Regions from separate parts of the Homo sapiens genome. Here regions 1, 2 and 3 are each linked to region 4. The links are contacts of gene promoters, found by promoter capture Hi-C in human tissues and cell types (Jung and others, 2019). All regions are on one chromosome and are shown on one strand. Each heading gives the region's core, a stretch centred on a gene start or on the middle of the fragment in contact. The rest is flanking DNA. Distances are from core to core; before and after follow the strand shown. Region 1 overlaps BNC2 (basonuclin zinc finger protein 2). Region 2 overlaps BNC2 (basonuclin zinc finger protein 2). Region 3 overlaps BNC2 (basonuclin zinc finger protein 2). Region 4 holds the start of BNC2 (basonuclin zinc finger protein 2).

The links. Contacts are between HindIII fragments. The study calls those that stand out against the background at their distance.
Region 1: a fragment that was not itself captured here is called in contact with the fragment with the promoter of BNC2 in region 4 in 1 of the 25 tissues and cell types used here (dorsolateral prefrontal cortex).
Region 2: a fragment that was not itself captured here is called in contact with the fragment with the promoter of BNC2 in region 4 in 1 of the 25 tissues and cell types used here (mesenchymal stem cells).
Region 3: a contact is called between a fragment that was not itself captured here and the fragment with the promoter of BNC2 in region 4, in 1 of the 25 tissues and cell types used here (IMR-90 fibroblasts).

Annotation. Positions count from the first base shown.
Region 1 is chr9:16,690,719-16,693,418 of GRCh38, forward strand. All of the region lies in intron 3 of BNC2 (basonuclin zinc finger protein 2), which reads right to left. Among named protein-coding and RNA genes, the nearest start is that of BNC2-AS1, 35 kb to the right of the region's middle. The HindIII fragment of the contact is 4,232 bases long and covers 1-2,700 here.
Region 2 is chr9:16,728,121-16,730,967 of GRCh38, forward strand. All of the region lies in intron 2 of BNC2 (basonuclin zinc finger protein 2), which reads right to left. Among named protein-coding and RNA genes, the nearest start is that of BNC2-AS1, 2.7 kb to the left of the region's middle. RefSeq lists an enhancer at 2,029-2,576. The HindIII fragment of the contact is 4,009 bases long and covers 1-2,847 here.
Region 3 is chr9:16,658,927-16,661,626 of GRCh38, forward strand. All of the region lies in intron 3 of BNC2 (basonuclin zinc finger protein 2), which reads right to left. Among named protein-coding and RNA genes, the nearest start is that of BNC2-AS1, 67 kb to the right of the region's middle. The HindIII fragment of the contact is 4,475 bases long and covers 1-2,700 here.
Region 4 is chr9:16,869,285-16,871,984 of GRCh38, forward strand. BNC2 (basonuclin zinc finger protein 2) reads right to left here and starts at 1,386. Exons shown (of 7, transcript NM_017637.6): 1 at 1,362-1,386. The coding sequence starts at 1,364. The HindIII fragment of the contact is 8,994 bases long and covers 1-2,700 here.

The sequences.
Region 1 (2,700 bases), core at 131-2,630, 180 kb before region 4:
ATCTCCTCTGGAGTCATCTCAGAGCAATGAACTATAGGATCAGCATAAGATAAAAGAAAATGGAAAAGAGTCAATCAGTATGTGATTCTGTTATGCAACAGGTTGAAAGACACAGAAGGTGACGGAGGTGGGGGGATGCCAGGGTGCGGGGTGGAGCAGGCACAATGTCCTCACAGCCACCAGGAGCTATTTCACTAAGGTTCACTCTTGCTCTTCCCTCAGGAGCTGATCCTCTGGGGTGAGCTGCCAAAGAACAGTGCCCTGGGCTCTGTGATAGGAGCAACCTCTGCAGGTACAATTACAGGAGATTTTTCACAGCCACAAACAACAACAGAAATACCTTGTTTTTATACTGTGAAATATGGGATAAAAGGTAAAAATCTCTCTTCCCTGGTGACACCCTGAGGAGCCTAATGGACCACGAATAATGCTAAAATTACATAGAATCTTTCTTCCAGAGTGCTCAAAGGGCTTTACACGTAATATTTATTAATTCCCACATCAGACAAGTAAGGAAGGGGAGAAATTTCCATTGTACTCCTTTTACTTCTAAATGAGAAAACTGAGACCTATCACTATGGTCTCCCTCTACATTTGATAAAAATGGATAGAAGTGAAATTAAGACAAAGTTCTCTCAATGACTTCGCTAGTGCTTTACTCGAAAAACATCCTACTATTGGACAGATTTCACGTACTTCCTGCAATTCTTGCTTTACCTGGGTTTTAGCATTGGAGAAAATGAGAATGAAGTCACTTGTACCAGATCCACGGATGGGTATGGGTTCTTTTTTTTTTTTTTTTTTTTTTTGAAACAGAGTCTCATTCTGTCACCCAGGCTGGAACGCAGTGGTGCGATCTTGGCTCACTGAAAGCTGTGCCTCCTGGGTTCAAGCGATTCTTCTGCCTCAGCCTCCCGAGTAGCTGGGACTACAAGCACCCACCACCACGCCCAGCTAATTTTTTGTATTTTTAATAGAGATGGGGTTTCACCACGTTAGCCAGGATGGTCTCGATCTCCTGACCTCATGATATGCCCGCCTCGGCCTCCCACAGTGCTGGGATTACAGGCATGAGCCACTGTGCCCAGCCATTTTTTTTTTTTTTTTTTAAAGATGGAGTCTCACTCTGTCACCCAGGCTGGAGTGCAGTGGCGCAATCTCAGCTCACTGCAACCTCTGCCTCCCGGGTTCAAGTGATTCTCCTGCCTCATTCTCCCGAGTAGCTGGGATTACAGGTGCCTGCCACCATGCCTGGCTAATTTTTGTACTTTTAGTAGAGATGGGGTTTCTCCATGCTGGCCAGGCTGGTCTTGAACTCCTGACCTAAAGTGATCTGCCCACCTTGGCCTCCCAAAGTGCTGGGATTACAGGCGTGAGCCACTGCACCCGGCGGGTTCTTATATTTAAGAAAAAAAGGTACAGAATTCTATTATTCTATTGGTTTGCAATCATTCTTGTAATACATTATTTTGGAAATTGAACACCACAGGTTGTTGCTTATGGGCAAATACATTGTCAACTCTGACAACTGACATTAAATGCAATTTCAAGTATGCCACACCCAGGTTAACTTACTTTCTATCCTCAACACTCAACTCCAGCTATCTTAAAGACAGGTAATACTGAAAGAGTTCTAGCTTTGCAATTAGATCTCTGTTTAAATCTCTACCGCAATATCTTGTAAAGTTGCTCAGTTACGTATCTCCGAGCCTTGTTTCCTGCACCTGTAAAATGAGGATACTTATATTTATTGTGCAGGGTTGGCAAGGTTGAATGAGATGACACATGTAAAGCACCTAAGGATTCAGTAGGTACACAGTATATCTGTAAATGGTACTCTGCCCCCAGCCCACAAAAGCAGCACCACAGCATACCAATCCAATGAAGGCTGAGAACTTTGAGACCACGATGGAAGCCGCATAGGGGAAAGGAAAGCAAGCCACAAGGGTCAAAGGAATATTATAAGCAACTGGGGAAACTAAAAAGAGACAGAGTCACTTGGTCTCACTTAGGGACCAAGGGCCAACTCAATCATCTTTTAGAAGGCTTCCTAGAGTGATGCTGTGTTTGGAATGACCGAAAAGATCGCTGTCAGCTCAGAGGGACTTAGTGTTAAAGACTTCACTGGGTGCTGGGCGTCGTGGCTCATGCCTGTAATTCCAGCACTTTGGGGGGCCAAGGTGGGTGGATTACCTGAGGTCAGGAATTCGACACTAGCCTGGCCGACATGGAGAAACTCCGTCTCTACTAAAAATACAAAAATTAGCTGGGCATGGTGGCGGGCACCTGTAATCCCAGCTACTTGGGAGGCTGAGGCAGGAGAATCGCTTGAACCTGGGAGGCAGAGGTTGCAGTGAGCCGAGATCTCACCACTGCACTCCAGCCTGGGCAACACAGTAAGACAGTCTCAAAAAAAAAAAAAAAAAAAAAAGACTTCACTGGGGGATGAGGGGGTGAGAGTGGCAAGAAGCAGCATATCTGCCCCTCCTGCAACCAACCGTTTCACAATTAAAATATAAGGTAATTTTCTGAGTTCTCTTATGCTAGCAGCCTGGCCTATAAATTATTAAAAAGTAAAGAGTTTCCAGAGAACGTGCATGAATAAAATCTGAAGAACCCAACCCTCTGGGGGTGGGCAGCACACTGACAGACAAGACCAATAGTCTCGGTCAGTGCCCAAGGCATGCTTCTTGGCCAAAG
Region 2 (2,847 bases), core at 6-2,505, 140 kb before region 4:
GTCAGAGCTTCTTTCGCACCTTCTGCACAGATATCCCTATCATTTATGCATAGATTGTGACTCCCCAAGCTTGCCTTTGCTCAGTTTAACAGCTGCCTGTCAGGTGTGCAGGCGGCACTGGAGACCCAACCATCAGCTTCAAACTCTCAGCCACTGCATGTCATTGGATAGCAGAGCTAAGAGTCAACTGCACTGTTCCACTGTCAGGCACCAAATGACACCCTGCACTAACCCCTCTCCAGATATACAGATAGATACACACTTATGCACACTCCAGGCAGCACCACAATCACGGTGCACAGGGCAAGGGGAAGCTAGGGCCCTTCCCCGGGAATTTTTCTCAACAATGCTTTCTGATATAACACATAATATCTGACACCAGTCTTTGGCTTTAACATTTGTAAAACTGTGATACTTAAATTTTTTTTTAATTACACTGAAGAAAGTAAAATATTCAGCTGTAAGAGAATGTAAAGTTGGCTCAGTTATGGTCTAAATGTTAGCTCCTGAAAGTCATCTCGTATGTGCTGGGCTATTTATAACCACATAGAAACTCCTAAATAACGTACATAGAGATGTGACCTTATACTCTAAAGAGTAAGCAAATAAGCCTAGCAGTTTTTATAACATAGAAGATGCACAATAAACATTTGCCAAATATAAATATATACTATTTAATATCTAGTACCTCAGGCTATTAATTACTAAACTGGATGTTAGCTAATGAGAAACTGAATGGCAAAGGAAAAAAGTATACCTTTTCTTAAAGCTCAGAAGTAGAAAAAAATCCTTTGTTAAAGTTCCTAGATGAAGCATCTGCAATATCCTTTCAAATCGTTAAGAAAAGAAAAAGATAAACAAAAAAAGCCTGTCCCATTTCAGGCAAAAAGTAATGAATATAAAAACTCCATTTTTTATTCAAGATCTCTGTGGAAAATTCTATAACGTTTTCCTGCCTGATGAAATACACCCTTGATAACATGTCGTATTTTTAATTAAACAAGTCTTAAAACTATTCACCTATTTATTAGATAGTATTTGTCTGCCTTATTTATGGAAAAGCAGCACTGAACAAAATGCACTGTACATAAACAGTAAGTTCAAAATGGAAAGCTAAATTCATGCCATCTCATAAAAGTAGTCAGCAGGAAAAAGCCATCCTTCCTAAACTTAACATGTAAGGAACATTAATCTTCAACCACCTACAAATATCGAGGACAAATGTACCACTCTCCTTGTTCCTTCTTAACTCAAGAATAACAATAAACCTTACTCTCTGAAACAACAAAAGAAACAGAAAAGAGCTTCAATGGCAGCTCTGTGTCATTAGTGGACAATGAGAAAAGATGAGAAAACGTACACTATGTTGACACAAATGTGCCTTCCCCTCTAGAACCGACATCTCCTGAAAGCTTTTCTGTTAAACTTCCCTCCAGTTCCCCACCATTAAGCACAAAAAAGTCTCAAAAGAAGCAAATTCAATATCTGAGAGGAAACAAACAAGAACCCAAAGAATTGTTGCCTTAAAATATATTAAGTCCACCTGTGGTCAATAAAAATATTCTTGCTGGGGGGGAGGGCAGGAAAATCCCCTACGAGTCAATTGTCAACAGTGACTGTACCTTTAGTGCTAGCTATTACCCACTTAAACTCCCTCTAAAATTTGCTAGCCTCTTGATTTCTGAAGTGGCACTCAGTGCCTCAGTCAAGCTGCCTGCTCAGCTCCTGACCTTCCCACTAATGGCTGTTATTTGTGGGAGGCTTAAGGACACTGTCAATAGCAAGCTTCCTCCTCCTTCCACTCAGGCTCTGTTGTATCGCTTTGCCTGTGTGTTTTTGCCTGTGTTCTCTCTCGCCTCTCACTCGCCCTCTCCTTGTCTCTTTCTCCCCCTCCTTCACTCCCTCTTCCTCTTTTTCTAGCCCCCACCCCGTTTTTTCTCAGTCCTGCAGTCCTCTTCTTTCCCAGGTATCCTACCCAACACCCCACACACACACTAACAACACAAAAATCAACTGGCATGCAGCAGCAAGCACCTGCAGTAATAGACTCTTTTATTAAAACTGTTATTCTGCAAGACTTGAAATTCCCCGTGGACCGGGCCATGTCAAAGCCGATATAATTAACTAGAGGCTCAGCAACGGATCAATTACCAGACAAGCAAGTGATAGTGAAATCAATGAAAGATCATCAGCCACATTATCAGTGTTGCAACTCATTAGGGCAAAACTGAGAAATGTGCTCAAAGCAAGCCCAAGCAAGGTGGCATTACAAAACAAAGGGCTAATTTGGAGACCCTGCTGTGAACAATCTGTAACAGAATTAGCCTTTTTTCCCCCTAAACTGCACAGCTCCGTAACTAAATGTGACAGACTGAGAGAAGCAGTTTATTAAGACACCAACCCCAAGTTTATTTAGTTCATAAACTCTCTCCTAGAAAATCAATACAGTCTGTACAGGGTTATTAGGCTGACTAGCTAATACATCCAAATCTAGTCTGCCCAGCCAGCAGTCTTCTGACAAAATGCTACCCAGTATAGGCAAACTGAGCTCCTTCAGATATCATGGACTGAGGTGGCCCTGGCTGAAACACGTCTGCAATATAACATGTTACTGCCACAACACGAGCCTTAAAAGCAGCAGGATATCTTTCTAAGTTTTAAAAAATATTTTTTCATAAATATACAGTACTGCACCTGCTAAATGGATTTGCTCAAACAAAATCTTAACTACTTTGTAACACAAATTTACAAAGAGGACAAGCTCTGTTACAAAAAGAGACAACAATTAATCCAGACTCAATAATAAATAAGATTTTAAGTTTCTCTAACACTCATTTTAAAATAAAT
Region 3 (2,700 bases), core at 43-2,542, 210 kb before region 4:
AATCATCAACTAGGATCAGAAAAATACATTACGCCGATACACAAACCATTGATCATCGCAACTGTCTCTTTTTTTGAATGTGATTAAACTTAAGCATGAATTCATTTGAGAGCTAGGTCCTAGAACAGTGGCTAACTTAAGAGAGGTACTCAATAAATATTTGCTGAATGGCTGAATGGATGGATAGATGGACAGGTGTGGGTAAATGGCAGATGGATGGCGGGGGGGGGCATGTGAATGCACACACGTGCACTGACTTAATGCAGAGGGCCCTGACAATAGTATTACAGTCAAATTCTATTGTACCGCCATGTAAAAGGGCTCTCCGTTTCATCGTGCCCTTCTGCAATTTCAGGACCCCTGTTCACTGGCAACCACGCTGCTTCTCAAAATCCCAAGCTTGCGGCGGGCACAGTGGCTCACGCGTAATCACAGCACTTTGGGGGGCCGAGGTGGGCAGATCAGGAGGTCAGGAGATTGAGACCATCCTGGCCAACATGGTGAAACCCCATCTCTACTAAAAACACAAAAATTAGCTGTGTGTGGTGGTGCATGCCTGTAATCCCAGCTACTCGGGAGGCTGAGGCAGGAGAATCGCTTGAACCCAGGAGGCGGAAATTGAAGTTAGCCGAGATTGCACCACTGCACTCCAGCCCGGTGACAGAGCGAGACTCCGTCTCAAAAAAAAAAAAAAAAAAATTACCAAGCTTGTTTCTGCATCAGGGTCTTTGTCATTGTTGTTCTCTCTGCTAGAATATTCTTCCCTTGATCTGTGCAGGGCTTGCTCTCTCATTTTATTCAGTTCTCTGCTCAACTGTCATCTCCTCAGCGTTGCTTTTCTTGGCCACACGATGTAAAATAACAGGCTCCTCTCTAGCCTCACTTCCCATCCCCTTATTCTCTGCTTTTTTCTTCATAGCCCTTATTATACTCCCTATCTTATATGTTCTTTACTATTTGTCTTCTCCACTAGAATATAATCTCCAAGGGGAAAGGACTTTGTTACACTGTACCTCCAGCAACCAAATAGATGCCTGAAACAGAATTATATGTTCAGTTAATATCTGTATTCAGCCAAATTATTCCCTGCAAAATATTTTACAAATCTAACATCTCACCCCCAAATAAGTTTTACTCACACTAGGGACCCCATAATTAGTTGTTCTCCAATTGTACTATTTACTAGCACTTTGCATCCCTTGCCCACAATGTCTTGGACTTCCCCTTGAAAATTACACATCTTTGGGGCCGGGCGCGGTGGCTCAAGCCTGTAATCCCAGCACTTCGGGAGGCCGAGTCGGGCGGATCACCTGAGGTTGGCAGTTCAAGACCAGCCTGTCCAACATGGAGAAACTCTGTCTCTACTAAAAATACAAAATTAACCAGGCGTGGTGGCACACGCCTGTAATCCCAGCTACTAGGGAGGCTGAGGAAGGAGAATAGCTTGAACCTGGGAGGCAGAAGTTGCAGTGAGCTGAGATCGTGCCACTGCACTCCAGACTGGGCCATAAGAGCGAAAGTCCATCTCAAAAAAAAAAAAAAAATACATACCACTTTGTATTAGTTCCTTGTTTATGTGTGCACCTCCTACTCTTTAGCAGAACATAAGCTGCCTAAGGTATCCAATAGCACGGACTATAATTAGCCTTCACAAACAAAGCCAAACTTTATTGGATAGCAGAAAAAGAGAAAGGACAAAAAGGGGGAAAAACTAAGTTTCCACAGAATGTGCCAGCCAATATGACTGCTATACAATAGGCCCTCTGTATCTGTGGGTTCTGCATCCATGAATTCAACCAACTGCAGATTGAAAATACTCAGGAAAAAAAAATAACAACACAACAATAAAAATAATAGTAATTTAAAAATCAATACAGTATACCAATTATTTACATAGTATTTACATTTTATATTATACTATGTATTGTAAGTAATATAGAGATGATTTCAAGTGTACGGGAGGATGGACATAGATTATATGCATAGTAATGCCATTTATAAGGAACTAAACCGTCCTCAAATTTTGGTATTTGAGGGAGGTCCTGGAACCAATTCTCTACAGATACTGAAGGATGACTGTAGATGATCTAACTTAATCCTAAATATTCTAAAGTGTATATACCATTATTCCCATTTTAAATGTAAGGAAACTGAGGCTCAAGAAAAGCAATTAACCTTCCCAACGTCATGTGGTAAAATTGATTTTACAACCTAGGGGTTCCTTTCTTCATTCCTAGAGAGAAAGAAGGTGTGAGCCCTTACCTCATTCCTGTATCATCAGAAGAACAGATGTAATGGGTAATATACTCATCTTCTAACAAAAAAACCCTAGGTTTTAAGTCTTACTATAGCTAGTCCTTATTAACTGTTTGAACTTACTTGGATAAACCACATAAACTCTCTCAACCAGTTTCCTCATTTATAAAACAGCATGTACCACCTGCCCTTACTAAATCACAAGTTTACTTGGAGACTGACTTCAATAGTATATGGGGAAGTGATCAGTATACTATATAGCTGTATGTTAGTTCCCCAGAGATGAAAACAAAGCTAAGGTATGTATTATAGAAGACTCTGGAGTCCTCTGTCTCATAATTTCCGAGGCCATTAAAGTTTAGTGTTATCAGTTTCCTCTCTGCACTCAGGGATTCCCTCCATCAGAGTTCCAATATATTAATATTTCTATTGCTTTGGAGACTC
Region 4 (2,700 bases), core at 136-2,635:
TTTTGTACGTCAGTTTTACAACAGCTTGACTCTAGGGTAAATGGGAACCATCATAAATCGCACGCTGCTTTCAAAACCACTTTAATTTCTGTCAGCGTTACTGTAACCACAGTCCTGGGCTCTTGCTTTTGTGTGTGTGTGTGTGTGTACGCGCCCCTGCATTTGACAGTCCCATCTCCTACACTCCAGTTGTGACTTTGATCACTGAAACAAGAGATGTCACATTAGGGAGCAGGGAAGAGGAAAAAATGCCAACCCGCTATCTCACCTGTATTCTCATATGTTCCCTCTATATACGGAATACACCATGTCAGATCCCCAAGTGGGGGTAACAATAGCGACGCTGGGAGGAAGCAAACTAAAAAGAAGGGAGTGGTCAAGCCCCATTTCTAACAAATCACTTCCCCGAAAGCGGACAGAGCGGCTCATCACCAGGCGAACTAATTGCACGCTTCCTCGCTGCAAAGAAGTCGCTTCTCGTAGAGGGGCTGTGCTGGAGTCTCGCTTGGCAAAGCCAGCCCATCTCCTCCACCACTTGCACTTGGAACTTTTTTTCAACCTTAAACTCACTTCACAGGAGATTTCACCTAGGGTTTTTCAGCATATATAATTTTTTATTCTGCTCCCTCCCCAGGCCCCAAATCCCACCCTCCAGTCAACGTGCAAGTAAAACAAATCGGCTCCTATAGAATTGCACTTCGAAAAGAGCCGTCTCTGCAAGGTTGATTTTCCTGCCCTGCGTTCTGCACCTTCTCCGTAAAGCCTGCGGGAGCATTTCCTCCCATCTCCATTTACCACGGGAAGATTCCGAATGTGAAGACAAGGGGAGAGGAAGAGTCAACGTGCCGGGCCCGGGCGGCTGCGCCCCAGCGCACCCGGCACCCACGCCCAGCCGCCGGTCCCTCACTCGGCGGCAAGTTGTAAAAGTTCCCGTAGGTCCCAGCCGCCTTCCTCTCTTCCCCGAGCTCCTGCCAGCGCTCCATTCATCCCCCACTCCCCTCCACCTCGTCCCCCCAGCCCGTCCCCAACGCCCTGGAGCCTCCCCTAGCCAGCCGCTCACCTTCGCGCGGAAGCCGCGAGCGGGGCCGACCTTGAGAAGCCCCCTCTCACGTGCACCCTCCCACCTAGAGCTCGCCTCAGAAACTTGGGGCCAAGTTTAGGGGAGGCCACTGGGAGCGCAGCGGGGATCAGGTCGGACCGGGGTTCTGGTCCCCGGCCCGCCCTCCTCAGCGCCCCTTGCCCCTCACGCCGCGGGCCGGAGGGCGGACACGGCCCCCGGGCGGCCCCGGTGGCGCTCGGGCGCGGGGGTCATTTCTGAGGAAGTCTAGAATAAAAGAGGAAGGAGGGTGGAAACTTCTTACCATCTCGGCATGCTGGTTGTCAAGTGCAGCCCCCGCCTCTTGGTCTCCTCTTAGCGGCCGCGCCTGGACCAGCCCCTCGGCCGCCGCTGGCTCCCTCCGTCTCGGCCTTTCTCTCCCTCCCCCTCCGAGTTCCTCCGGGCCTCCGCTCTCGCCGCCTCCGCCTCCCCGCCCGCCCGCGCGCGCCCTCGCCGCGGCCCCTCTGCGCTCAGGTGACTGATTTACACTCGCGCCGGGGTCGCGCTCGCGCCCCGAGTCCCAGCCGGCACGGTTCCCCGGCTCCTCCTCGGGACAAAAAAAAAAAAAAAGGGAACGGCTTGTCCCGGGAGGGGGCTGCCCTGCTCGCGGGAGGCGGGGGACCGGCGGGCGAGGTGACCTCGGCGGCCGTGCAAGCCCCACAAGTTTTTCCTCTCTCTGCAGAATTGTCGTGACTACAATGTTGCTTCCCTTTTGCAAAATAAAAGTCGGTCGTTGTGTTGTTTGTCCTCAGAGGTCCAGGGGCTTGGGGAAGGAGGATGTATGTTTCTCCCTCCCCCCACCGCCCCGTGACTTCTTTGGGGGCTTGTTTGTTGTTTGGGTTGTTCTTGCTCTCTCTTTCTGGGGATGGAAAAAACAACTTTGTGGGGATGGAAAAACAACCCTGGCGCCCCCCCCCCCCCCCGGGGAGCTGCGGGCGTGGAGGTAGAGGTGGCCGCTAGCGCCCAGCTGTCACACACACACAAAAAAAAATTGCGGGGCGGGGGTGGGGAGCGGAGCAAGGAGAGGAGGCTGCGAAACGCCGAGGAAAGGGCGCGAACTTTATTCCGACTGCAGCAAACCGCGGCAGCTCTTTCCTTTTCGGGCACTCGGGCGTCTCTGTCCCCTTTGACCAGTTCCTCCTCCCCAGCCCCGCACGCCCCCTCCTCCCCTGCCCCTTCCCCAGCGTCCCAGCCGCGGCCGACCCGGCTCCCCGCGACCCTCTCAGCCCAGCTCCTCCGCGCGCCGCTGGGGAGAAGGCGAGTGAGGCGGAGGAAAACCCAGCGGACAGAAACCTGGGACGCGAACGTGCTGGGAGAAAAGGCCAAAAGTTGCGCGCAGCTGGGGGAAAAAAGTTTTTCTGGTGGCGGAGCGTTTTGTGCCGGCCCAGACGCCGGCTTGCGGCGAGGGCTTCCTTCCCTTTCCCGTGGTCTGGGCCGCGGGCCTCGGGCTGGAGAGGAAGGAGGCTGTCGCGCCCGCGGGGGAAAGAACAGTCACATCTGTGGGTGACACTCAGCCGACCCAAGTCACCCTGCCCTGGAGACTCAGAAACGCCGACTACAGCCTAAGCGCGCACACGCCTGCAGCTGAACGATATTTCTTAAAT